2 separate regions of the Homo sapiens genome follow, and region 2 is linked to region 1. The links are contacts of gene promoters, found by promoter capture Hi-C in blood cells and fetal thymus (Javierre and others, 2016). All regions are on one chromosome and are shown on one strand. Each heading gives the region's core, a stretch centred on a gene start or on the middle of the fragment in contact. The rest is flanking DNA. Distances are from core to core; before and after follow the strand shown.

Region 1 (6,659 bases), core at 2,380-4,879:
CAAAAATGTAAATATTTGGTCTAAATTATGCAGGTCAGATATTAAGTTTCCTAAATGCTTTAAGGTCATAAACTGCTTCTTTGACTTTTAAAAGTTGTTCAATTTATTTTGGAGCATTGATTCTAGATAAGGCCTGGGGACATGTGAAATTAGCCATGCCCCCTAGCTATGCTAAGAAAGTTCTTCATAAAATGCCACTGTGATTCTTAACTATTCAACTTGTCTGCTTTACTGCTAGGTGAGGCCTCAGACACGTGGAGTGCTCTTGTTTGACTGTGTGAGTGAGCTGGTTATTCAGTCATCGTCTCTCTGATTAACACTTCTTTACCTTGGTTTGAGTGGAGATTCTGAAACTCGCTTTGTCTTTGCTGGCTGGTTCCCTGCTGGACTCTCGATAGGGGCATTAGAGGGAGATTGGGAGGCTGGAGGAGGAAGACAGGACATGCTCACTGATTCCTATTTCATTCTCTTTCATTGTGAGTAGCCTCAGTGATGCTTTTCACGGGCAACAGTGACTGGTTCCAGTTTGCAGTTTTCCCCACTCTCAGAAGTAGTCTCATTGGGCCTCCTCAGAGATATCAGCACCAGGGTCACACTATCCTCAGAGATCTGTGTTCCAGTTCCATGTGGGCCCCTCCTCTGAGCCAGAAAAGAAGATATTTTATATGCAATCTCATTGTTAAAAAATGTTACACATATATTCTAGCTAGGTTAGATTAACCAATCTTTATTAAGGAAGAAACTGCTAATTTACCCCATAGTGAAGATCGAGACCTACTGACTTGGGGCAGTGACTTATTGAAGACAAAACAAAACAGAATAATATTGGTATTATTTCATTAATTGTATCAATGTTGAAACTGTATTGATTTCATAATAGCTCTGAAGATGAAGTTTGGCAAATATGGAAAGGTTCATGGTACCCAAAGACTAAATCTTCCTAGTGCTAGAGGCCACCCTATGAGCAAGCATGGAAATGGGACATGTGACCCAGCCTTAGTAAAATTAACAGGAACCATAGGTCACAAATGACAGTGCTCTTCTATGAGAAGCCTTAAGAAATAATATCTTGTTGGGAGCAGTAGCTTGAGAATTTAAAGAGACCCTAATAGTTAGGCAGGAATATCGTCCTGCCTATTCAGCCTGAAGAAGTTACTGATCGGGTCATTAAACTCCTCAGAAAAATAAAGTGGTAAGGATTAGAGAATGCTGCCATGTGCTGCACAAGGAAGTTTTGGTCCATGACAGACTGCATATATGGTGGAGGTCCCATAAGATTATAATGTCATAATACCGTATTGTTACTATGCCTCTTCTATGTTTAGATACACAAATACTTACTATTGTGTTACAAATGCCTACAGTATTGAGGACTGTAACATACTGTGCAGGCTTGCAGCCTAGGAATATGCTTTACTTTGATTTATGTTCAAGTATCATTCTCCCTTAGATTTTGTGAGGTTGAAAGGTATTTGTCTAAACTGGATGTGAATGGAGAGGGGGCCTCCGGAGAGCAAAGGGCCCTCTGTTCCCCTTCCTAATATTAATAGGCTATACCATACAGCCTAGGTGTACAGTAGGCTGTGCCATGTTAAGTTCGTGTAAGTGCACTCCATGATGTTCCTGCAACACAAAATCACCTAGCAACACATTTCTCAGAATGTATCTGTCATTAAGTGACACGTGACTATTTGCACTGTTGACCTCAAGTACACAAATAGATCAGACAAGTGGAGAAAGACCTCATTCTACTTCATTCTAATTTAAATGCAGGTGCTGTCCGTAGTTAGGAAAATGTGAAGGAGCAATCAGCCTCCAGTGATATTCAAGTCTAATTAAAAATTCTTCTTGGACTGTTTAGTTCAAAGCTCCCTCTTAATCTTCCAGGAGCTTAATCCTCCACACAAAGTATATGAAGACACAAAAATGTAGAAAGTATGTGAAATAGCTATTATTTAAGTGTGGAATATTAATTTTGTTGTAAGGAGGGGATTTATTCACTGAAATAAACTTTATTAATTTGACTCATCGCCACAGAAGTCACGTAGGCTCCTCTCTGAGTCAGAAAATGTCAAGAGCTTTCTGTCTATTTTTCCTCTTTAGGGACTGCTTGAGTACAGCAAAAGGAGGGGCCAGCAGATTTCAGTTCAAGCATGTTTGAAGCCTGTTTTCCGACATTATTTGTAGAACAAAAAATAAACATAGTAAAATCTCCACTACAAATGATCTCTATAAAGTGTAATAACATGATTTAAGTTTATGTATTATTTTCTATATTTTATAAATTGCTGCATTGAACAGCTTTAATAAAAAAAATTAAAGTTAGCCTTGAAAATTTTTTTGGTTGTTGTTTGTTTTAATTTACAGACATGATAGTACCTTTTAGCTGTTCCTATACTTGAGTAGCAATCAATTTGGGTGTAAAATATTAGGGTCATAATGTTCTTTATACCTCATCCCACTCTCTCATGGTATTTGTTACTCAGAGAAGAAATCTGAGTCCTGATTATTTCAATTCCTTTGAAGAAACCAAGTTATTTTTTTGTTTATTTAGCAGTAGGAATCTTTTTATTTAAATTTAAAAATTTTCACCTGGAAACTTCCTATTCTAGGTCTCACTTTGTGAATTTTTTCCTTGCCCATGTTGAACTCTCAACCTCCAATTTTAGATTTCTTCTCAGACCTGGAAAGCATATTTTTTAAGATAAAATTTTTAATCTTGCTTGTGATCCACCATTCCATTTTATGCTTTAAGGACATCTCTGATTTGTAGATTGGAATTCTGTGATTTGTCCTCCCTTAAATTTCTGAGCTCTTCTAAATGTCTTTATTCATTTCACATTTGGGAATATTTCTGAAGTGAATCCTCTCCATTATTGATTTGATTTTCACACTGTCAAATCTGTCTTTTCTTGCTTCTAGTACAAAACCTGCTGGATTTTTTCTTCTTGCTTCAGCGTCTTGAACCAAGTTTCCTTTTTAAATCTAAGTCTGTTCTTGTTGGGTGGTGGCAGTGTCCTCTCAAATTGTTTCTGGGGTCCCTACACCCCCGTGAGCTCCCAGGCCATGTCTGTGGCAATGCTGAAGGACAAATGCAGGGTGTGGCCCTCCTGGTGATGAAGAGGAGGTGCACCCCAGGTCACCAGAAGCCAAGAGAACCCACGGGGCTGAGCAGGGCAGGATGAAGCAACATGTTCTCACAAAAACCCTGAAGATGAGATACGATTGTCGCAGCCTCTCCCTATGTGGGCCTGACTCTCTTCACTACACTAAACTGGATGTGAATGGAGAGGGGGCCTCTGGAGAGCAAAGGGCCCTCTGTTCCCCTTCCTAATATGAATGCCTTACTTTGATTTACATTCAAGTATCATTCTCCCTTAGATTTTGTAAGGTTGAAAGGTAATTGTCATTATTACCACAGAAAGGAAAACTGGAGTTCAAAGAAACTTAACTGAGAAGTGAGTCTTGGTCTCTGTATTATTGTGTTGATGTCAGGAGTCAGAGCAACTGGTGATGAAACAGAACCCAAACTCAGTGACTCCCAGGAATGGCCTCATATCCTGTTGTGCAACTTTCCGAAGCCTCTAGGTCATTGTGGTGCCTTGTAGCTGTCCCGGGAGCCCTCAGCAGCAGTTGGAGCTGGTGCACAGGAAGGATGAGGAAGACCAGGCTCTGGGGGCTGCTGTGGATGCTCTTTGTCTCAGGTAAGACAAGGAAGAGGACTGAGCAGGGGAGGCGTTTGGTCCAGGATCTCGGGGAGCCCTTTTCTGTTGAAGCTTCAGAGCACAGGGCCATCCAAGATAGAGCCAACCAGTAGTTATGGCAGACCGTGCTGCTCTACCCAGAATTGGGAGAACATGCAGTGTCTGCACACAAAAGTAAAAGAAGGAGAGAGTCAGGGAAAAAAGATGTCTGTGCATGTCGATGTTGTTAGAGACATGCAAAGCCTAGTATGGGAATAATGATAGAGTAGATCTCATCATGGCATGATCTACAATAAGTTTATTTGATGTTGAAATTTTTTTCTTATATTCCATCATGATGTGTTTGATGTTGACAATCTGTTAAACCCAAAAGACAGAATTGATTTAACAAATATTTCCCAGGGGTCTACTATGGGACAGCAAATATACTACTGCTGAGGACACAGACGTGACCAGAAGAGGCTGGTGCTCATTTTGGTGGAGGTGATCATCCCAGCTCTCCATGGCACGCTGGGGTTGGAGGGCACAGTTGCTGAGGCTCAGCAGAGCCGGCGCATGCCCCAGCTCTTTCTTGTGTCTCCTCTTACGATCCGCACAGCTCACATCTGCACCCAAACCAGAAGCATGCGGGCTTTATTCACTCCTCCTCCTAATCCTTATGAATAACAGGAGGAAAGTGTCAATATGAGTTAAAAGCGAGGCTTGCCTTGGGAAGGCATGAAAAATCAGGGAGAGGTATCCTCCTGGGCTCTCTACTTTGAGCAAAGTCATGGACAACTGCCTTGAAGAGCCTGTGCTCAGACATTGCTCTGGGTCTTCTTGGAGCTGGGGTGATAATCTAGATGGGCAGAAGGGAGTTAGCTCCTCATGGACAAGTGCATTTCCTTGTGTTTGATTCATGTTTTTCTGAAGGAGAACTGGGAGATGGCAGAGGGCTGAAGGTTATGTACCTGTGTGAGAGAAAACCAGTGGTATATATTTCATTGTGCCCTGTGGGGATAGGTTAGGGGTTAACCTCAATGCTCCTTGCAACTGGATACTTATTCACACTTGGGCCAGGACTTCTCTAATCCCTATCAGACTGTGTTGGACCATGTAGCTCAGTGCTTTAGGTGGAACCAGAGTCCTTGGGTTTGAATCCTGGCTCTAGTACTTAACTATGGTGAGACTTTGGGCAAATCACTTAATCTGTCTGTGCCTCAGTTTCCTTATCTATAAAATGGGGAGAATAATGGTGTCAACTTTTTACTTTATAAAGATTAAATAAGATAGTCTTTAAAAACCCTTAGCACATAATACTTAATAGGTAGTATTTGCTACCCTTTTAATTAACATATTCAAAGGAATTCCCTTCTTGCAATTGTGCACAGACAGCTCAGCAGCCTTCATTTCTTATTGTCTCCTTCCTTCTGTGAGAGACAGGCAAGTTTGCAAACTCAGTCACCTGTAACTCCCACCTTCCCTGGGGAGCTGGCAAATAAAAGAGATTTATCTGTAACATTAACTTCAGAGGTTAGGGCTTCAGTGGTGGCAACTTGAGGATGGAGTCTGTGTGTCTTCCAAAGAGCCCAGCACAGTGCCTATGATAGAGAAGTCTCCCAGCCAGTCTGATGAGTGAGTGAACAAATGAGGGAACCAGGCTTGGTTTCAGACAACACTCAGCCTCTGGTCAACAGTCTCTTGGAGGCACATTCCTGACTGGAGTGTGTGGGAGTTGCCCAAGAGGTCTGTTTCCGAGGTTTCCCTAGAAACTGGAGTCTGCTCCCAGAAGAACTGGCTTTCAAGACTGATTTCACCTTTAAACTCCTTGTGAGTCCCTGAGTTGAGTCTTCCTAAGGTCAGGCAGATCTGTTGGCCTATCCTGGGGTGGGCATGCCAGGGGGCTCCATGAAAGGGTAAGCACTTGTCATTTTTCACCAGGCCTGCAAGGACCTAAGTGTGTGGTATTAATAACAGCAGTACTAGTGTTACCGTGACCCACACAGTAGACCCAGCAGCACTGTCTAGCCTGTTATTTGGTGCTCCATGGGGGAAGGTACCCCAGGCCTGAGTGGGTAAGCTACAGTCTCTCAGCAAACTTAGAGAGCCCTGTGTGTCCAGCTGAAAACACGGACCTTGGTCTTCTCACTTCCGCTCTGCTTGGCCTCCCATCAGCAAGGCTCCCTTGGACAAGGCCAGATGAGCATCCCCAATTCTAGATGGTTAACCCAGTTCGGACTCCAAGAATGTGATGGAAACTATTGTCACTGTAACCCAGGGGTTCTCAAACATGGCACTATTGACATTTGGGGTGGGATGATTCTTTGTTGTGGGGGCTGTCCTGTGCACTGTAGATTGCTTAGCCTGGTATCCATTAGATGTTAGTAGCATCCACCCCTCTCCCTGGTTATAACAACCAAAAATGTCTAGATATTGTCCAGTGTTTCAGGGAGAGTTGTGGCGGGGAGCAAAAATTGCTCCCCAGTGGAGAACCACTGCTGTGACTCCGTGACATCAAAAATAGGAGGGGGCATTTCTTGGCTCAGGTAACTGGGAAGTACAAGGGGTGCTCCTTTGGAGCACAGCTGAGTCCATGACTCAGATAACGTGGGTTTTTTTCTCTCTTTCTTTCTCTCCCCTCCACTATCCCCCTCTTCCTTCCTCCCACTCACTTTCTGCCTGTTTAGCCATTCTCGGGCAGCCTATTCCTACGTGGTAGAAAGTTTCACATAATAAAGTTTCACATCTCATTGACCTGTGAATCCCAGCAAGAAGCATTTCCATTAATGGCTACAGCAGTCTCAGGGAGGACTCTGATTGGTCCAGCTCAGCCATGTGCTCCTTCCTAAACCAATCAGCCTGGCAGGGAGATGGGGTACTTTGTGTATGTGTGTGTGTGTGTGTGTGTTTTTTTTTTTAACAGAGTCTTGCCCTGTGGCCCAGGCTGGAGTGCAGTGTTGTGATCTTGGCTCACTG
Region 2 (6,792 bases), core at 1,697-4,196, 220 kb after region 1:
TGTAAAACCACCAGTGAACCAGTTGTCTGGCTTTAGACTAAGGCACAGCCATTTTCTAGCTTGAGTTGAATGAATCAGGACAATTACCTTGAAATATACATCTGCCTCAGCCTGCTTAGCAGAGAGCGACCATTGTCATTCAGCTACATTTGTTGAATTCTCAGCACCCTCTGCTTGAAGCTTGGCCTTTATTCCTAAAGCAATGTAAGCTAAAGAATCAAGACTGAGCAATGGTGGTTTTCCTCTTGGACCACTTCCCATCTCCCAAACCTATTACTTTGCGTCAAGAAAGTTGTAAATTATCATTCCCTTTTATACTGCACACTTGTTTTGGTCAGTATGGGTAATAGCCAGAGGATCTGTCCCTGATGTAACTTCTTAGACTTTAGCTATTGGGAATTTAGGGAATGACATTGAGGGTTCAGTAGTCCCTTTGCTTTCTTTTCAGGAAATGGGCCTCACCTCTTTTCTTCCTGTCACCCTGGTAGTTTTGAGTCAATGCTGAGCATACATGCAGTTTTATCTTGCGCCCCACATTACTTTGCATATGGCCTCAAATGTCCCTTATTTTACACTGGTCTTTGATATATTTATGGTGTACATACATATCAGAAACTTTTTTTTTAATCACAATTCCTTATGGACTTAATTATCACATTATGACATGAAATTACCAATTTTAGGTCTCTTTTTTCCCTAGGCGTGTTGAGGATCACTAGAGTAACATCTTGGAAGGTGCCAAGTAGTAGAGTTTTATGGACTGAGTTTATTCTTACCAGGGTGTTGCAAAGACCTTACTCCTGGATTGCAACTATCTTACCATTTCCCAGCATTCCCTCTTGACTTTCTTTTTTGCAGATCCTGTACCTCATTCCTCTTCTCCTTACTTTCGTTAACATTCTGTTACCATAAGTGCATTTTTAAAATACCAACCTTTCACCATCCATCCACAGCCAATTTTAGTCAGTAGTCATAGAGGGATAATGAGTCTCTAATGTCATGACAGTTACACATTTCTAAATGTAGCATGAAATAGTTGGAAAGTAGTATCTTATTAGGCAAACAGAAGTGATAGTTTTTGGATGTTAGAGCTGTCTAGGAATGGTCTTCGGTGACTCACAACAAGAATTGACTTCCAAACTCCTACCATGGTTGCCCATAAGGGTGTCAGACTAGATTATTTGTTTTTATGCTTTGAGTGGATATAGCTTAAAAGAGAGGAGCAGTTTCCTAGATACTTTCGTTACCATCAATGGAGATATTTTGTCTTTTTCAGGATTGGATGTGGTCTTGATCGTCTGCAATGGGAAAATGTATCTGCGATGATCGAGGAGGTATTTGAGGCAACAGACATCAAAATTACTGTGTACACACTCTGAACCAGTGAACATTTTGGATGTTTCCGTGTTCTCCTGTGTCATCTCTACTGGGCCATAGGACCGGGCAAACCTACCTTAAAATAGGCAGAGGAAAGTTTCATGAGAAGTAGTGTGTTTAACAAGACAGACTTTGGTTGCTGTATTCAAGTATTTGGATTATGACTGTGGAGGAGGGCTTGCTTAAGATATGTGGTTGTGTTTTTTTGTGGAAAAGTAAGGAGTTAGGTGGCTTGATAATAGGCAGGGAAACCAGATTGTCGGGACTATGACCTTTTTCTCCAGTATGCTACCTGATTTGTTTGGCTGGCCACTAGGTGGCAGCATTGGTTCTACTTCTCTGCTTTTTAAGAGAAATTTCAGGAAGGATGATCATTCCAGTTAGTTTGGCATTTTTTGTCGTTTGTGCACATAACTTGGTGTTATCCTTATGTCATCAGATTCCTCCTAGGGGAGAGTTTTTGTTTTAATTACAAAATTAAATTCTACATTGTTACCAAGAAATTTGTGGTGATAAAAATGGAAAAATAAAAATTTGGGGAGTTAGTGAGGTTCTGTGCTTATGTCTATTTGTTCTGGACATGGGTAATGGAGGGTTCACCTGCAACTTAATTTCAAACAGTCAGACAAAGGGTCCAAGCGGGAGGAGAAGCAAAGTGAGAAATAAGAGATAAAAATAGACAAGTCAAAAGGCAGGTTTTTAGAATCTCCTCATGGTGAACTTTTTCTCTCTTTTGTCCACTGCATGGTTTCTGTGATTGAACCTGCCTGAATTTAATCATGAAAACAAGTGAAATAATGTATGTTAAATGCCTGGCAGAGTACTTAGCACAGACTAGTGACCCAATAAATCAGTGATTGTCAAAAATCCTTATGAGTCTTCTTTAAAAAAATAAAGGCCACTTCCTCTCAAAAAATTCTCATACCTGTCATCTCAGCACTTTGAGAGGCTGAGACTGGAGGATGACTTGAGCCCAGGAGTTTGAGACAAACCTGGTTAACATAGCGAGACCCTGTCTCTACAAAAAAAAAAGAAATTAAAAATTAGCTGGGCCTGGTGGTGCAGGCCTGTAGTTCCAGCTACTCTAGAGGTTGAGGCGGGAGGATGGCTTGAGCCTGGGAGGTTGAAGTTGCATTGAGCTGTGATTGTGCCACTGCACTCCAGTGTGGGCAACAGAGCAAGACCCTATCTCAATTAAAAAAAAAAATTTGGTGGTGGAGTGGGATGGCCACTTTTGTGTTTTTAACCTCCATAGAAGATTTGGATGTGCAGCCAGCTGGGGTCTAAATATTAGTCCTCTTTTCTTCCGAAGCTGCAAAGACCAGTCGTCTATTGTGGTCATGGTAGGAAAATAAAGTTCATGGATTTAGCCAATGGTTCAGTATCAGAGCTATTCGGGAAACTAGACATTTTCTTGTTTTCCCTTACAGTGGTGTTGAGAGTTAAAACAGCCAGACTTGCTATTGATTTTCTCCCTAGAGTGACTTTGGGTCTGTCACAGGACTTGCTGCTTTCCCAAGTATAAAAGAACAACTGTATTTTAGAAGGGGCTGGTTAAAACACCAGGAAAGTACTGGTTAAATATAATCTTTGTACTTTAGACTGTGTTCTTATCACATATCAGCCTGATAAGAGGCAACAGTTTCAAAAAAGTATTTCACTTTTGTATTTCTAGGTGGAACAGACAAGTTCTTCATGTTGTTGGGGTAGGGGCAGTGGAGGGTCAAGTTCATTATCAAACTTTTAGATTGAGGCTTTTCTTGAAGCATTGCTTTTGTCCACATAAAGTTGAAGGGAAAAAGGAAGGAGAGATTATCTAAATACACAAAATTGAAAGTGAGAGTGGGGGATAAGAAACTTAAAGAAACTTAAAATATTTTGCTTAACTCTGCAATTACAGATGCTCCTCAACTTAGGTCTATGTCTGGGTAACCCCATCTTAAGTTGAGTTCAGTTGAAGGGTGTACTGAATGTGTATGGCTTTTGCACCGTTGTAAAGTCCAAAAATTGCAAGACAAACCATTGTAAATTGAGTACCATCTGTAAACCTTAACACAAGTCAAAACATGGATTTTCTAGGCTTCCTTTACTTTTAAAGAGATTATGGTTATTATTATTATTTTTTTCTTGGCGTTTGAGCCTTGATTCTTTAGACAAAACCTAGTCTCATTCAGGATTGGCTGTAAGTGGAATTCTGGGACTTAGCAGGAATGTGATAAAGCACTTTGTCATTTGCCGATAGTAGTCTTGGGTCAAATTCCGACGACTTATCACACTTGAAGCCTGAGGAAAGGAGGCATGCCCTGGTAATCAGAGTGAACACATTATTCCTGGAAACCTAGTTAGAGTTTGGCAAACACCCGGAAATTCACCTGTGAATTTTTGCTTCCACATAGGACTCAAACAAACCTTTAAAAAAAAAAAAAGAGAGACTTGACATCATCCTGCCATTACCATCAAACACCATGTATTGAATACTTTTAAATGATTGTATATCTGAACATTAAACTACTACTTTTCACCCGCTCCTCTCTAATAAAGAAGCTAGTTGCTTATTAACTGGCATTTGGGATGTGGCTACCTTAGATTTCTCATGCTTTTTGTTCCACCTTCTGCCCTATTACTTGCCTTCAGAGAAGGGAAAGGCCCTCACTTGATTGTCGTAAGAAGTCTGTATGGGAGAGTTATTCTGCATTGTCTAGGCAAGTCTTGGTTTAACCATGGCTTGGTTCATAGCCTGGAGTGTCCCTGTGTCTGGACTAGCTCGCTTGTCTGTGGCAACTTCCAGATGTTCAAGTTTCTTAAAAATCTGGCCACGGGAAAAACACACCACTTCTTTTATTAATGTTGCTGTTTTTCTTTTTTTAAAAAAATACCCAACTTAACATAAAATGCATATTTCAGAAATCTAAACCTCGGGTCTGAGGCTGTTTGTGTTAAGCAGCCCCCTTGGGTGAGCAATTAGGACCTTCAGTCCCATAGTTGACTGGAGCCCATGTATGGTTGCATTTCTCTCCTTGCAGGTCACTTTCGTCCTTCCCGAGAGCAGCATTAGAGAGAGAGTCACAGCCTAAATAAACTACAGCATGAGAAGTATATTTCAAGTCCTCTAAGGGCCTTGTCCAGTATGATTGGTTGGTGTCAAATGTTGTCCAGCTCCAAATGGTATTAGGAAGACAGGCATGTCCCAGATGGCTGTACATGTCATTGCTGTCTCTTGGTGGCAGCAGGAATACCTTGGTAAAACAAACAAAGAAAATGTGTTACTGAGAGCTCTGCTGGCCCCGAACAATGACTAGTTTCTTTTTGAACTAAGGTTTCTGTGTGCCCTTCCCAACAAGTCCCTGGATTTCTCCTCCATAGTTTCCTTTGCAGGATTGGGTAAATTTACCAGGATTGACTAAACCAGAAGCCAGTCTTTCGTTCATGTTTTGATGTGGTTTACACAGAAAAAGCCCCAGAAGAGATCTGGTTTAACTCTGGTCTTTTGACTAAATATAGGATTAAATACTATTTTGTCATTAAAAAAAAAAAAAAGAAAGATGAAATAAGTATGTAAAATAAGACACTTTATTTAACAAATGCTCATTTCTCAAGATTATTTTAATTAAGCAGGGTTGTTCTTTTGGGCTTTTAGATTACACTCTTATCTCATGCCAGTTTTTTTTTTTTTAACTTGATATATCTTAACCTTTCCCTTCACAAACATGAGCAATTCAAATAGAAGACAGGGAAGCATGTTAATGGGTCCAGATAATACAGTTATATTTGAAATCACTGAAAAAAAAAAAAAAAAAAAAAAGCTCTAAGGACTTGCTAGTTAGGCACCTGGGCCCTTGACTCTGAAAGATGTCTGAAAGGAAAATATACTGGGGTTAAATTTTAAGCTGCCGGTTAGTCTGTAGAATCTATGTTGGGTTTATAATTACAGTGATAGTACATACACTAACAAAATCTTCAAGGAATTCTAAAAGTTAAATTTTATATTCTCAGAGGGCACCCTCAGAAATCTGTTTTGACTACTGTTCACCACTATAAAGTGTCTTATTTTATGTGAGCAGAGTACCACACAGTATACCCTATCATAGGCTCACTGACTTCAGTGACTGGGTCCTGCTTTTTAAAAGAAATGGCTGAAAGTTGTATCTTCATGGGTTGGCAAATGCTCAGCTTGAGAATGATCAGGTGCCCATGTGCATGTCTAATAGAAAACACCTGCCAACATCAAGCTCTGGAACATTGATATTTCCTAAACGTGTCTATGAAGCGACATCTTCTCTTAAGGGTGTTAGGAGTGAGAGAGACCAAAAGTAAATTATCTTCATGGAAGCTTGTTGTTTTCATGTTTTAGTAATATGTGAGTTGTTGCAGGATTAAAGTTGGGTAAGAGTGTCGTGAGTACCCCTCCTCTATTACTGGAAGATTTTGATCAGTAACTGGGGCCTTGCAAAGGGGGCTTCGTCATAGCATTTCTGTAGGCGCAAACTCAATCAGACTAAATGTAAAAAAGATAGTAAAGGATCCTTTAGCCCTCTTTCCTGAGGGTAATTAGCCTGTTTCTGTTAGAGTTTAATTTACCCTCAGCAAGAGGCCAAATTGGCCTTAATTGTGTCCTAATTATTTGCTTAAATAGCTAATCTTTCTCCTATCACCTCTTGATATCTGTAAGAGGTTACTTCTGAGCTGCTGCCTACTTTACAAATGTCTTTTTAACTCTTTAAATGTTCCTGCATGGACTAGCTTGTTGCTATATTATCCCCATTCCTGCATTCGACATCCTCCATGAATTCTACTGAGGTCTTCTCAACATAAGGAAAATGTTCCCGTATTGTATTTTCACACAGCAATTGTTGGTCTCCTTCAAAGTGTAGCCATTTGTTTGAAAACATGAAAGCAGGTCTGGCTTAAAACAAGTTAAATACCAGTCCATTTGGGGAATTTCAAAATTACCATAAGTGAAAAAATTGTCCCTGAAGGACTAAAAAACATTCATTAGAGAAAAATGGAATGGTAAGATTGCCAGTGGATATGGGAGTGAGGCATCTAGAAGATGTCTGGAATTAGTAATCCCTGACATGTACACAGGGGCATACTCAGAGGATTTCAGTATCTTCTCTGCTGTGGTTCAGTAGCAGGTGCTTGCACCATCTAAATCTTACCAAAGAACGTCATCTTGCCTCATGAAAGTTTTAGGATTCCTGTCAACCTTGAGTATTCTAAGTTAGGGGAAAGTTACTTTGATACAAAAGTGTGGGAGGGAAAAGTTTAGAGAGGGATTCAGAGGAAAGAGACATGTTCTAAACTATTTTTGCAACCAGTCAAAAGCAGAGAAATGAAACCCTTCCAAAGGAAAATCAGACATATCACAGATTCTACCTGACCTCACACCTTCTACTGGAGTTAACATAATAAAGT

What was found. Contacts are between HindIII fragments. The CHiCAGO score rates a contact against its expected background, and 5 or more counts as called.
Region 2: a fragment that was not itself captured here is called in contact with the fragment with the promoter of TREM1 in region 1 in 1 of 17 cell types (neutrophils); the score reaches 5.3 in neutrophils.

What each region holds. Positions count from the first base shown.
Region 1 is chr6:41,283,652-41,290,310 of GRCh38, reverse strand. TREM1 (triggering receptor expressed on myeloid cells 1) reads left to right here and starts at 3,629. Exons shown (of 4, transcript NM_018643.5): 1 at 3,629-3,704. The coding sequence starts at 3,656. RefSeq lists a silencer at 1,555-1,644. The HindIII fragment of the contact is 6,846 bases long and covers 1-3,778 here.
Region 2 is chr6:41,061,922-41,068,713 of GRCh38, reverse strand. APOBEC2 (apolipoprotein B mRNA editing enzyme catalytic subunit 2) reads right to left here. Exons shown (of 3, transcript NM_006789.4): 3 at 3,823-4,613. OARD1 (O-acyl-ADP-ribose deacylase 1) reads left to right here. Exons shown (of 6, transcript NM_001329686.2): 6 at 1,277-3,942. The coding sequence ends at 1,379. Among named protein-coding and RNA genes, the nearest start is that of OARD1, 7.0 kb to the left of the region's middle. The HindIII fragment of the contact is 5,527 bases long and covers 183-5,709 here.